Regions from separate parts of the Homo sapiens genome. Here all the other regions are linked to region 1. Evidence: promoter capture Hi-C in human tissues and cell types (Jung and others, 2019). All regions are on one chromosome and are shown on one strand. The core of a region is centred on a gene start or on the middle of the fragment in contact, and the rest is flanking DNA. Distances in the headings are between cores, read along the strand shown. Region 1 holds the start of AFAP1L1 (actin filament associated protein 1 like 1). Region 2 overlaps SH3TC2 (SH3 domain and tetratricopeptide repeats 2). Region 3 has its middle 100 kb from the start of MIR584.

What was found. The method cuts DNA at HindIII sites, captures the fragments that hold promoters and counts their contacts. A contact is called where the count stands out against the background at its distance.
Region 2: a fragment that was not itself captured here is called in contact with the fragment with the promoter of AFAP1L1 in region 1 in 1 of the 25 tissues and cell types used here (thymus).
Region 3: a contact is called between a fragment that was not itself captured here and the fragment with the promoter of AFAP1L1 in region 1, in 1 of the 25 tissues and cell types used here (IMR-90 fibroblasts).

Annotation. Positions count from the first base shown.
Region 1 is chr5:149,270,507-149,274,466 of GRCh38, reverse strand. AFAP1L1 (actin filament associated protein 1 like 1) reads right to left here and starts at 2,608. Exons shown (of 19, transcript NM_152406.4): 1 at 2,483-2,608. The coding sequence starts at 2,498. RefSeq lists enhancers at 1,008-1,547, 1,548-2,089, 2,090-2,629. The HindIII fragment of the contact is 7,342 bases long and covers 1-3,960 here.
Region 2 is chr5:148,986,193-148,989,683 of GRCh38, reverse strand. SH3TC2 (SH3 domain and tetratricopeptide repeats 2) reads left to right here. Exons shown (of 17, transcript NM_024577.4): 17 at 1-3,491. Among named protein-coding and RNA genes, the nearest start is that of MIR584, 74 kb to the left of the region's middle. The HindIII fragment of the contact is 3,723 bases long and covers 1-3,491 here.
Region 3 is chr5:148,958,671-148,962,220 of GRCh38, reverse strand. No RefSeq gene overlaps it. Among named protein-coding and RNA genes, the nearest start is that of MIR584, 100 kb to the left of the region's middle. The HindIII fragment of the contact is 8,437 bases long and covers 1-3,550 here.

The sequences.
Region 1 (3,960 bases), core at 1,359-3,858:
GTGTGCCCAGCCACAAGACCACTTTACTTGAGATGGCCTTTGTAAGTCACCAAGAACTGATCTGAGTATACTTAGTACTATTCTCAAACTGATTACTTGTACAGCAATGTTGATTTTTAAAAAGAGAATACTACTAAGTATTGCTGTACAAGTAATCAATTCGAGGTGCACTATAAAGTGTGTTGTATTTTACTAATTAAACCACTGTTGGAGCTCCTCACTGTGCACTATGTGCCAGGTGCAGTGTCAGCAGATTGATCACAATAGATCCACTCCTTGCCTTCCTGAAGCTTACTTCTGGGTAGGGAGGCCGACACTAAAGAGTCAGATAACTATGTCTATAAAGTTGTGACAAGAGGTGTAAAGAAAGATAGCAGGCTAGAAAAGCCTGCAGGGAGAGAGCAGGTCAGAGCCCTCCTAGGCTCTCAGCACCAAGGGATTCCTGGGAAGTCTGACTTCCTAGGAAGAGTGCTCTGGAGGCAGCCTTCTGACGTGGAGGTTGTTGGTTACCAAGCATTTAAAGTGAAGTGAACTATTGTCACTCTGTCTTAGGATGACACAGTGCACTTTCCACAGGCCTGGGTAGGCCTAGGTATGGATTTTTGTACTGGAGATCAGACAGGTTGGTATTTAAAAACTGGTGGGGAGTGGGGGTGGTGGAGAGGTTGGGGAGGTGGCGGGCGACTAGGAGTGTGAAGGGGAGGGGGGATGGTGGTATTTGCTTTAGACGCATTATGCAGGAGGTGGGAACAGCAGGACTGAGGGGTGTGAGAGGTGCCTCTTCTCTCTGTTTTTCCTCCCTGATGTACACTCTTCACACTTGCCTAGAAATCAGTTAACAGGTGAGAACTGCTTTACAAATCTAGGCCTCAGTTGCTAAAGAACCAAACAGAAGCCCACTCTCTTTCCTGCCTGCCCTTCCCAGTCCCTGAAGGAGAAGGTGAATGCAGTATTCTCTGTTGGGGAGGGGCAAGTGAGGAGGTTGAACTGGAAGCCAGGAGTCCCCTCTGGCCCTCTGAGCTCGCCAAGCCTGACTTTCCGTTTAACAGGAGTAAGGGAGGTTACCCCACACCTGCTCCCGGCTCATCCCTGCCCCAGTGCCTGCTAATTGCTCCCATGCCCCTGTTCCCTTCTTTTTTTCCTCCCTTCGGGGGCTCAGCACAGCAAACAGGCAGATGGGGGAGAGGTGTGAGATTATCGTGGGGAGGGGAATGAATTTTCCATTATTAATAACAGCAACAACAACAACACTTCGCCTGTTGGCACAGCACTCACTAGTTTATCTAGTGCCGTCACACCTGTGATCTCTTTGGATCCCAGAGGTGCAGACTGAAACCCTGGGGTTCTGATTCCCAGCCTCTGACACTGTTCACATGTCCAAGCAGGCCACTTCTTTACAGACACACACATGCCCATCTGGCCATTGCCAAAGGCCATGTCTAGACCTTTACTTAAAATGTGCGCTGCCGGGCGCGGTGGCTCACGCCCGTAATCCCAGCACTTTGAGAGGCCGGGGCCGGCTGATCACCTGAGGTCAGGAGCTCCAGACCAGCCTGGCCAATATGGTGAAACCCCGTCTCTGTTAAAAATACAAAAATTAGCCGGGTGTGGTGGCGCATGCCTCTAATCCCAGCTATTCGGGAGGCTGAGGTAGGAGAATCGCTTGAACCCGGGAGGCGGAGGTTGCAGTGAGCCAAGATCGCGCCACTTCACTCCAGCCTGGGCAACAAGAGCGAAACTCCGTCTCAAACAAAACAAAACAAACAGAAAAAAATGTGCGCTAGCCCCCTACGAATGCTGCCCTCTCGGCTTATGTCAATCTCAATTTCAGTAAGTCCCCTCCACTTCTGTGAAACGTCTACCAAATACACTGGAAAAGGGTCGGCAAGGTGCCTTGGAGACCATCTAGTCCAACTTTGTCGCTGGTCCAGAGAGAAGGGCTGGGCCGAGGACACAGCTGGTGCGGGATAGAACCACCCCCGCCTCCTCCCTCCCTGGCGCACACATGCATGCACACGCGCGCCTGCTCACGGCGCTCCTCCTTCTCGCAATGCCCTAGGCAGCTGCAAACTTCGGTCCCCTAGAGCTTCTCCCTAGGGGCTGCCCACAGCGGGTGTTTCGGGAGTTGAACCTGTACACCTTGTTTTCCCCTTTAGAGTGGAATGAGGTGGGAGGAGCTCGCTGTCCTCCGGAAACTAGAGGGGGATCTTTTATGAAGTTACAAATCGTTAGCCTATGAAAACTCTGATTTCACACACGAGAGGCGAGTTGGCCCCAGGACACGGGCGTTGACACGCACCGGGTTGTCCCGGCAGCCGAAGGCACCTTTGCATAAGCGCCGCGTCTCCCAGTCCCCTCCGAGCGTTCCTCAGCCCCCGCCCCACCGCCCGCCTCTCTCCCTCCTCCTCTCCGGCTTCAGATCGTCCAGTCTCCCTTTCCCGCCCGGCGCCGCAACAAGTGCGGGCGTCGCGGCCCCTCTTACCCTGGCCTCGGTCCATGGCGCCGGCCCGGTCCCCGGGGAGCGGGCCGCAGGGCGCAGGGGCTCCGGCGCGGCTGGTAGCGGCCGGCGCGCTGCGCTCTCAGGCCAGCCCAGCGGCCGGCGCTCTCTGCGGTCCCCTCCCCCAGACAGGATGCTCGCCGGCAGCCCCCGCCCCGCCCGCGCCCGCGCCCGCCCCTCAGAGCCGCTCCCGGAATAGACCCGAGCACGCCTCGCCCCCTGGGCCGCAGCCCGCTGTCCCGTGGTGCCGCACACGCCCCGCCGCGCCCTGCCGCTCGCTCGCCCTCCGCGGCGCTCCCACTTGGGCTTGGAGGACCCTTTTCCCCGTCCGCACGCGTTCGTTCCCGCGCCCGCGCGGCCTGCCCCAGCCCGGACCCAGGAGGTGTGCGGCTTTGCTTGCACTCCGCTAGCGATGGGGTCTTACCACCGCACCCCTCAGCCGGCTCCATGCCGGAATGCGGAGACTGTTGGAGCGCGTTTTTATCCTAGGGAATCAAAACCCCCTTCCCTGCAGCCGCCACCCATTTCCTGGCTTTGGGCTTGTCTTCTCCATTCGCCGCGGGTCTTTCTTGAGCACCTTCTAAGCCAGACAGTGGGCCCGCGGCGATGCCGGTGCAATGTCAGTGGTGTTGCGAAAGAGGAGTTAAATAATAACAAAGATCTTCAGAAAGAAAAGCACCTGGGAAAGGGAGAAAGAGAGGCTTGCTGAAAGGTGGGCAAGGGCTTGGGACACTTTCAACTTTTGAGGTTCCTTGTGTACTAAAACGTGAAAACATAACGAGGATCTGGGAGAATTCAGAAAAAGAATAGAAAAATGAGTAACACGTGAAAACATGCAGAACAGGGTGATAAAAAATGTGGAAATGAATACTTTTAGCATACAAAATACAGTGCAATATAAGTGTACTTTTCGCAAGATTGTAGAAAATATTGCTATGACCAGTGTGGAACAGTAATGGGATCTAAGTTTAAAGCTGTATGAAGAATGTCAACTTCTTCACCTTATTAGTATATCCCTGTGAAAATAGGTCTCACTCATTTATACACAATATCAAATGTCTGACTTTAAGACCCTTCATAAAGTCCAGGACCAATTGTTCTCCTAGACACTGCTCCTCCCACCATGGGCCAGGCCATGGTTTTCAGCTTTGAGCTGACCACTGTTCCCTACTTAGAACATTCTGGAACAGGGAACAGCTACCACAGAGGTATGGAGGCAACAAAAGGCCTGGGAAAGACCCTCCTGTACTTTCCTGGACTGGGAATATTTTCTTTTCTTCTTTTTTTTTTTTCTTGAAAAGTCTCCCTTTGTCGCCGAGGCTGGAGTGCAGTGGCGCGATCTCGGCTCACTGCAACCTCTGCCTCCCGGGTTCAAGCAATTCTCCTGCCTCAGCCTCCTGAGTAGCTGGAATTACAGGCGCCCACCATCACTCCGGGCAAATTTTTGTATTTTTAGTAGAGAC
Region 2 (3,491 bases), core at 459-2,958, 280 kb after region 1:
ATTTTATCAGACTGTTTTATTATCAGTGCAAACCGGACAATACAGAATTGTACCAACATCTGCAGCAATATACATAGGTGGTCTGAAAATGTCAACACTTTGCAATCCCCAAAACTCACATGTAAGTCCTTCCTTCAGAGTGATTTTCCAAGGTACACAGTTCTGCTGACCAAGGTATAGCTCCTGCCAAAGGATTCAACAACTACAATGTGATTTCTGGATGTGAATGAATTCAGATATTCCTCAGCCATATTTATGCTGGTTAAGGTAGACCTAGGTTCAAATCTTGTCTCAAAGTGCTTAGTATCTGTGTAGCATTAACAAATCACTTTATCTTTCTGAGCTATGGCTCTTTCAACTGTAAAATGGGGATAATAAATACCTATATAGCAAAGTTATTGTAAAATTAATGAATTAATATGTCTAAAGCAGTTAGCATGGTGGCTGGAATGTAATAGGTCGTTAATAGATTATGGCTATTTTTAAAACCCATGACTTGAGCCTGTAATCTTGGAAAAAAGACTCAAAAAGGGAATTCAATGACTCCAAAAGGAACTCAAGGAAATATAAAGAAAATACGTTAAAAAACAATGACAATAGCAAATTCTTCCACAATCCAAGACATTGTTTTGTGTGTGTTGTGTGTGTTATATGAGTGTGTGGTTGGTGGTTGTTTTTTTATTTCCTTCATGTCTGGGCTCAGTAGGGCACAACTAGACCAGATAAGGGAAACATTTTGAGTGAGAGAGAAGGTTGCTTGCAAATGACATCTCAAATCCAAAGAAGAAAGCAAAGTGATAACCCTTAAACATTAAAGTTATGGGGATCGTGTTTTTGAACCATGAGGTGGAACAAGTGACATAACAAACCACCCCAAAAGTTTCTGATTTAAAACAGCTTATCATCATCTGTTGGTCTGATGGATTGACTGGGCTCACCCGGGCAATTCTCGCTTGGGTTCTCTACTGTTGTTGCAGTCCAATAGTGGCCAGAGCTGGAGTCATCAAAGGCTCCTCTGGGCTGGGCATCGAAGATGGCTTCCTCACGGGGCTAACAGTTGATGCTTGCAGTTGGTTGGGAGCTCAGCTGGGGCTGTGATCAACTGGAGCCGTGAGCCATGTCGACTCCATGTGGCTTGGCCGTCTTACAGCATGGTGGCTGGTTCCAAGAGAGTGCATTCCAAGAGCTAGCATTCCAGGAGATTAAACGGGGAGCTGCAAAGCTTCCTATGACCTGGCCTCAGAAGTCACACAGTGTCACATCTGCTATATTTTATTGGTTATACAAAGCCAGCCTAGAGCTGGTATAGGAGGGGATTACTCAATGGCATGAGCACTGGGAAGCCTGGTTCACTTGGGGCTATCTTGGGGACTAGATAGTAAGGCAGCTTTACAAGACCAGATAACATTCCCATCTGGGGTAGGATTTTTGATAATGATTTTCATGTCCATGGGAGAAGGAGTAAAGATGCTTTGTTACCCACTTTTCATAAAATCTAGCTTGTTCTCTTGAATCTTCCACCACTCAACTTCTAGCCTGTGTGCATAGAGTTTTTATTACCCAGTAAGGCCAAAAGAACCCAGCCTTGTCCTTAAGACATGCAGGAAAAATATTAGGTAAGTCACCTTCTCTGTCTCCAAGTGGGCAGATGATATGACTCTCTGTCCTTGGCCAGAGGAGGTGCAACAGCATTCTCGGCACTTCCTTGTGGGTATCTGGAGAAGTGGCCAAAGTGGAGATGGCTCACCTTTAGGTGCACTCACTATGTAAGCTTACTCTGGGCCACAGAGTGGAGATTTTCAGATGAGAAGTTTCATGATCTAAAGAACACACACACACACACACACACACACACACACACACACACACACACAGATTTTGAATGAGGCCTCGAGTGAGGACATGACTTGGTGAGCTTCCCATGCTTGTTAAGTGGTGGGAGAGTGACCACAGCTTTGTTCTTCTCAGTCTTAATCTGATGATCTTCACTGAATCACTCCACCACACTCGTTATAAGGTTTCCCTTTGTTTCTGTAGTCATTCCTGGCACTTAGTTATTTCAGTGTTTATATATAGTGAGACTCTTTGAAAATGCTATAGGTGAGAAACCCAGCCAAATATGTGGAAGTCTTATGGAATATGCCCAAGACTATAGATGTAAAGACCATGCAGGTCTGCTGTGGGATAGAAATGTTAGCTGGAAGCTCAGCCTGATCTCTCATGAATAAGGCCTGGGAGAGTTTCAACACCTTATCTCCTCAAGTTTACTTACATACTCAATAAATAGTTGTTAGATTCCTTCTATGTGCCTGGCACTGCCCCAGGCTGTAGCAATAGATCAATGAAAAAAACTTATAAAGTTCTTGTCCTCTTGGCACTTGCAATCCAATGAGAATATTCCTGAACATTCCCAATGGTGACAGATAGAACCAATCTTTGTTCAGAACAAAGACCATTGGCAAAAATGTGCTTTTTCTCCTCTCCCCACAGAGGGGTTACAGTGGTTAAAATAATTTAAATCAAATTAAATTTAGAAGCATTTGATTTACACATTTCTTCTAAAGTGTGAGACTAATAAGATGATTTTGGAATGGATCTAAAATAAAGAATTTCAGATTAGAGAATTAAGCACAATGAACTACCATGAAATACATTAGCTGGGGAATTAATATTTCATTTTCCAAAAATCATTTTAGAAACAATAGCTCCCTGGCATTGAACTGGAGTCTTTGAAAACTCTGCCTCTCCTTGGAATTCTTGATATGACCTCATATTATTGCATTGTTAAATAATCTCAGCATTTTTTGGGTGTAACTGTTTTAACAAGTTAACACTTGATGCTGTTTATACAACGTGTCCCTTGGAGGAGCAAGACAGAACAGGACTGGGAGATTACAGCATGGGAATGGGATTTAGGCTCGTCACATTTGGTTGACTGAGCAATTCTTATGCTCTGATTTGGCTTATTATGATGCCTACAAGTCACCCTAACAAGTGGCTTAATAATTTGTCAAAAAAGGTATCTGTCATGTACTCAAACCTGTTGTGTATGAATAATCTAATTGAAGTTCACTTTTAAAATGATAATTCAACAAGCATTTATTAAGAACTTACTGCATTCTAAGCAATGTAGTTGATGGAGGTTGCTACCCTGGCAGATCTTAACTCACAAAGGGTCAGAGAAACAGCAGAAAAATGAGTGCTATGATAAAAGTAAGACAAGGAGATGTAATAGGGAGTGAGTGGGGTTACCTTGGCTTTCCAGGGCTTCCGTTTTCTCACTAAGTCTATCATTTAGAGCTGGGACCTAATGGAAGATCTCTAAGGTTCTTTTAGTTCTAACATTTAGTAATCACATGATTTGTGCTATTAGGTTTTTAGAACAGTCACTAGCAATGTCTGTTTTTTAATTAGCACAATATTTAATTGCTTTCTGATTTCAGATACATTTTTTTTCTCTTGTTCTTACAAAAACCCTGCAGAGATGAAGA
Region 3 (3,550 bases), core at 20-2,519, 310 kb after region 1:
CAAAGCTGCTAGCAGGTTTCTGTCCCATTAGCCACCAGCATGACCAGTGCCTGGTGTCTGGCATGAGGTGAATGGTTAATAAGCCTGAGTTGGATGAATGAATGAACTCCAGTATGTGAGGGAGTGGTGCCTGTGACCCCTAAAGGTGGAGCAGGTTTGGTTTCTTTTAGTATAAATATTTAGAATATGACCATGATTGCAGTTTTTGGCAAGAGTGAATCACTTACTCATGGTCATGGCCTTGAACCTAACCAAACCGCCAGCCAGCACCAGAATAAACTGCACAGAATCGCTGGCCTCAGCCAAAAGGAAATTGACTTTCTATTGACCCATGAGACAGGTCCGGTTTTTTTTTTTCTTTTAAATTTTTTACAAACAGTACAATGTCTAGTAAATCTGACCAAACCAGATACCTCTATTTATTTTTTTCTAAAACCTTGAACTGGAACAAAATTAGACCCCACATAATCCTTATTTATAATATTACTCAATGTGTGCAAATAGTAATGATGTTAACTAACATTCATAGGGCAATGCTATGTGTATTATCTCATGTATTCCTCAAACACACCTATGAAGTAGGTGCTATTTTAATTCCTATTTTACAAGCAAGGAAAAGTTGACAGCTAAATAACTTTTGCCAAGGTCACGCGGCCATTAGAAGGCAAAGTGAGCATTTTAATCATTTGAATCCAGGTCCACTTGATTCCCAAGCTGGTGCTCTCAGCTCTCTGGCTCTCCTGTGTTCTCAGCATCAGCGACAGCTGCAGTTTATTGGGCATACATTGTGAGGCAGTCACAGGGCTGAGCATTCTTCACACATGAGCTTGGTCAATCCCTCCACAGTACTATCAGGAGTGCACCATTGTTAGCTCCATTTTAGCGATGAGGAAACAGGGATTTCATGAGATTATTTAACCTGCCTGCCATCTGTGGATGGTGGTGTTAAGCGCTTCATGTAGAGTGATAGAGCTCAGCAAGCTCCAGGGCAACAAAGAATGGGGGACTTTTCCAGTGTCACACAGTGAATCAGTGGTTGAGCTGGAACAGAACTTCATTGAATACTTTTCATTCACTGCTAGGAGAATGTTGTAGTTAACAGTGGGAGGGGGACCTGCTATAAGGTCAATCTGGTGTGTCACTTGCTCTGGTGGCAGGAAAGAGTTTAGTGGATTAGAGCATATACTTTGGATCATACAGACCTGTGCTCAGGGCCACCATGGGAAAGAGCCTTCCTCTCCCTGAGCCTGTGTTTCTTCTTCTGTAGAATGGAACAATAACCATAGGCCTGCCTCTTGGGTTTGCTGGAGAAGAAAATGAGAGAACACACATTAAATGTCTGGCACAATGACTGCCATGCAGTTAATATGGAATAGCTGTTGTTGTTATGTTGTTAATTGAAATGATCCATGATCCAAAAGAGGCTTGGAAACACTGCACCATATGGAGAAGGCTTGAAATCCACTTCGCAATGACTGCCTTGTGATAGGAAGGAGATGTAAAGGCTGAAGAGTGTCTATAAGTGGTACGCAGGCACTTGGGACACACAAACACATACACACATACATGCTCCTGAAACCTGCACGCACATGTACTTGTGGCATATGTACACTCATACACACGTGCACACACATGTACACACAATATACTTGTACACACATGCTCACATACATGCACCTGCATATGCTCTCACATGGACATACACATATGGACAATATACTCGTGGCATCTATGTTTTCATACATGCATCTGCAACCCACACACACATGCACTTGTAACATACACATGCACAAACAACATACTTGTGGCATACAGATGCTCTTACACATGCACACACATGCATGGACACATGCGTCACACACAATACACTTGTAGCATACACATGCTCACATGCATATGCACACACATACATGCACACACATATACCTGTGCACACACACATTGCATCTGCACACACTCTCTCCCTTCCTTAGCCTGGTGAACACCTACACATCCTTTAGCTCTCAGGCCAAAGGTCACAGCTTTAGGGCAGCCACTTTGACTCAGGCCAGGACACTCAGGCTGAGCTATCTTGGCACCTAGCACCTCCACCTCTCATCCAAACTGTCCTCTCTCAGCCCATAGGTACTTCAGTCCCAGGCTCTGTTGCCATCACTCTAGGGAGCTTCAGGGTGCTCAGGGATCCTCCTCAGCTTGCATCTCATTGCATGTCATTGAATAATTGTAATAAGTTGCTTAATTCTACAATTCCTGCTAGAAGGCCACTTCTGTGAAAGGCAGGGATAAAGCTGACTCTTCTCCACAGATCAGAATCATTTGATGCAGACTGGCACATAGTATGTCTTCAATACCTAGATGCCATTGATTGAACAGAACCACCAGGATCTCATTTGCATGCAAGCTGAAGAATAAGCTTGTTCATATTGGGGTTACCCTGCACAAGATGTCTCCTATGGGGTTTTTAGCCACGGGGTCTCTAATGATTTGGAGCCTCACTCAGAGGAAGCCAAGCCTCAGAATGCTGTATAAATTGGTAAAAAAAAAAAAAAATCTAACTTTGAAATGCATTCCTAGTCACCAGGAAAACACGTTTTGGGGGGAGAGAATGTCTAACAAGCCTGAAATGTAGACAACTCCTTATTGCTTCTGACTGCACTTTCTCCTGGGAAGTTAGGGGACACCAGCAGTTGCCATGAGTAGGACTGACCAGTCACTGTCTGGGCTGAGGCAGACTGCTTTCTTTATTTTACAGCAGTAGGGAACCCCTTGTTAGACATAATGAAGGCAGAGGTTGATGGGCAGATGGAGATGAGAAACACAATGCCTGGTGGTAAAAAGCAGGTGGCTCAGCTTAGAGTCATTTATTTTAATTCATTCATTTATTTAAGAAATAGTTCTGGGCACTTTCTAAGTGCCAGGCACCGTGTTAGCTGCTTGGGACATAGGAGAAAATGGGATAGACGTAGTCCTTGACCTGGGGGTGCTCAAGTTTAGCTGGGGAGGTGGACAAGGAAATAGGAAACCAATATGCAGTGTGATCAGTGCTCCAGGGGGATTCAGAAGAGGAGTTCCAGGGAGAGTGGTGCTGGCTTCTGGAAGAAGGGATGTCTAAGCCAAGATCTGGAGGATGAGCCAGGCTAGGAGATGGGGAAATGTGGTATGAAGGAGGAGAACAGTCAGTGGGCAGACCTCAAAAGGAGAGACATGGCAGGAGTTCAGAGTGGCAGCAGCGGGGTGGGGGTGGTGGCAGGGAGGGCAGGGTCCCGTCATGCACAGCTCATTCCTGAGGACTGCTCCCTAGGGTGATGGCAACAGAGCCTGGGACTGAAGAGCCCATGGGCTGAGAGAGGACAGTTTGGATGAGAGATGGAGGTGCTCACGGGAACTGGGGCTTTGCATGAGGCTGCGGGAGCCTGGTGGGAGTGTCTCTGGGGAGCAGTGATGCAGACCCAGCTGCTGCAGGCCTGGGTACTGGGGATGTGGGTGAAGGAGATTTGCTGTTCACTGCTTTCTCCCCTGGCACATGGACAAGGAGGCCTAGATGACCGCT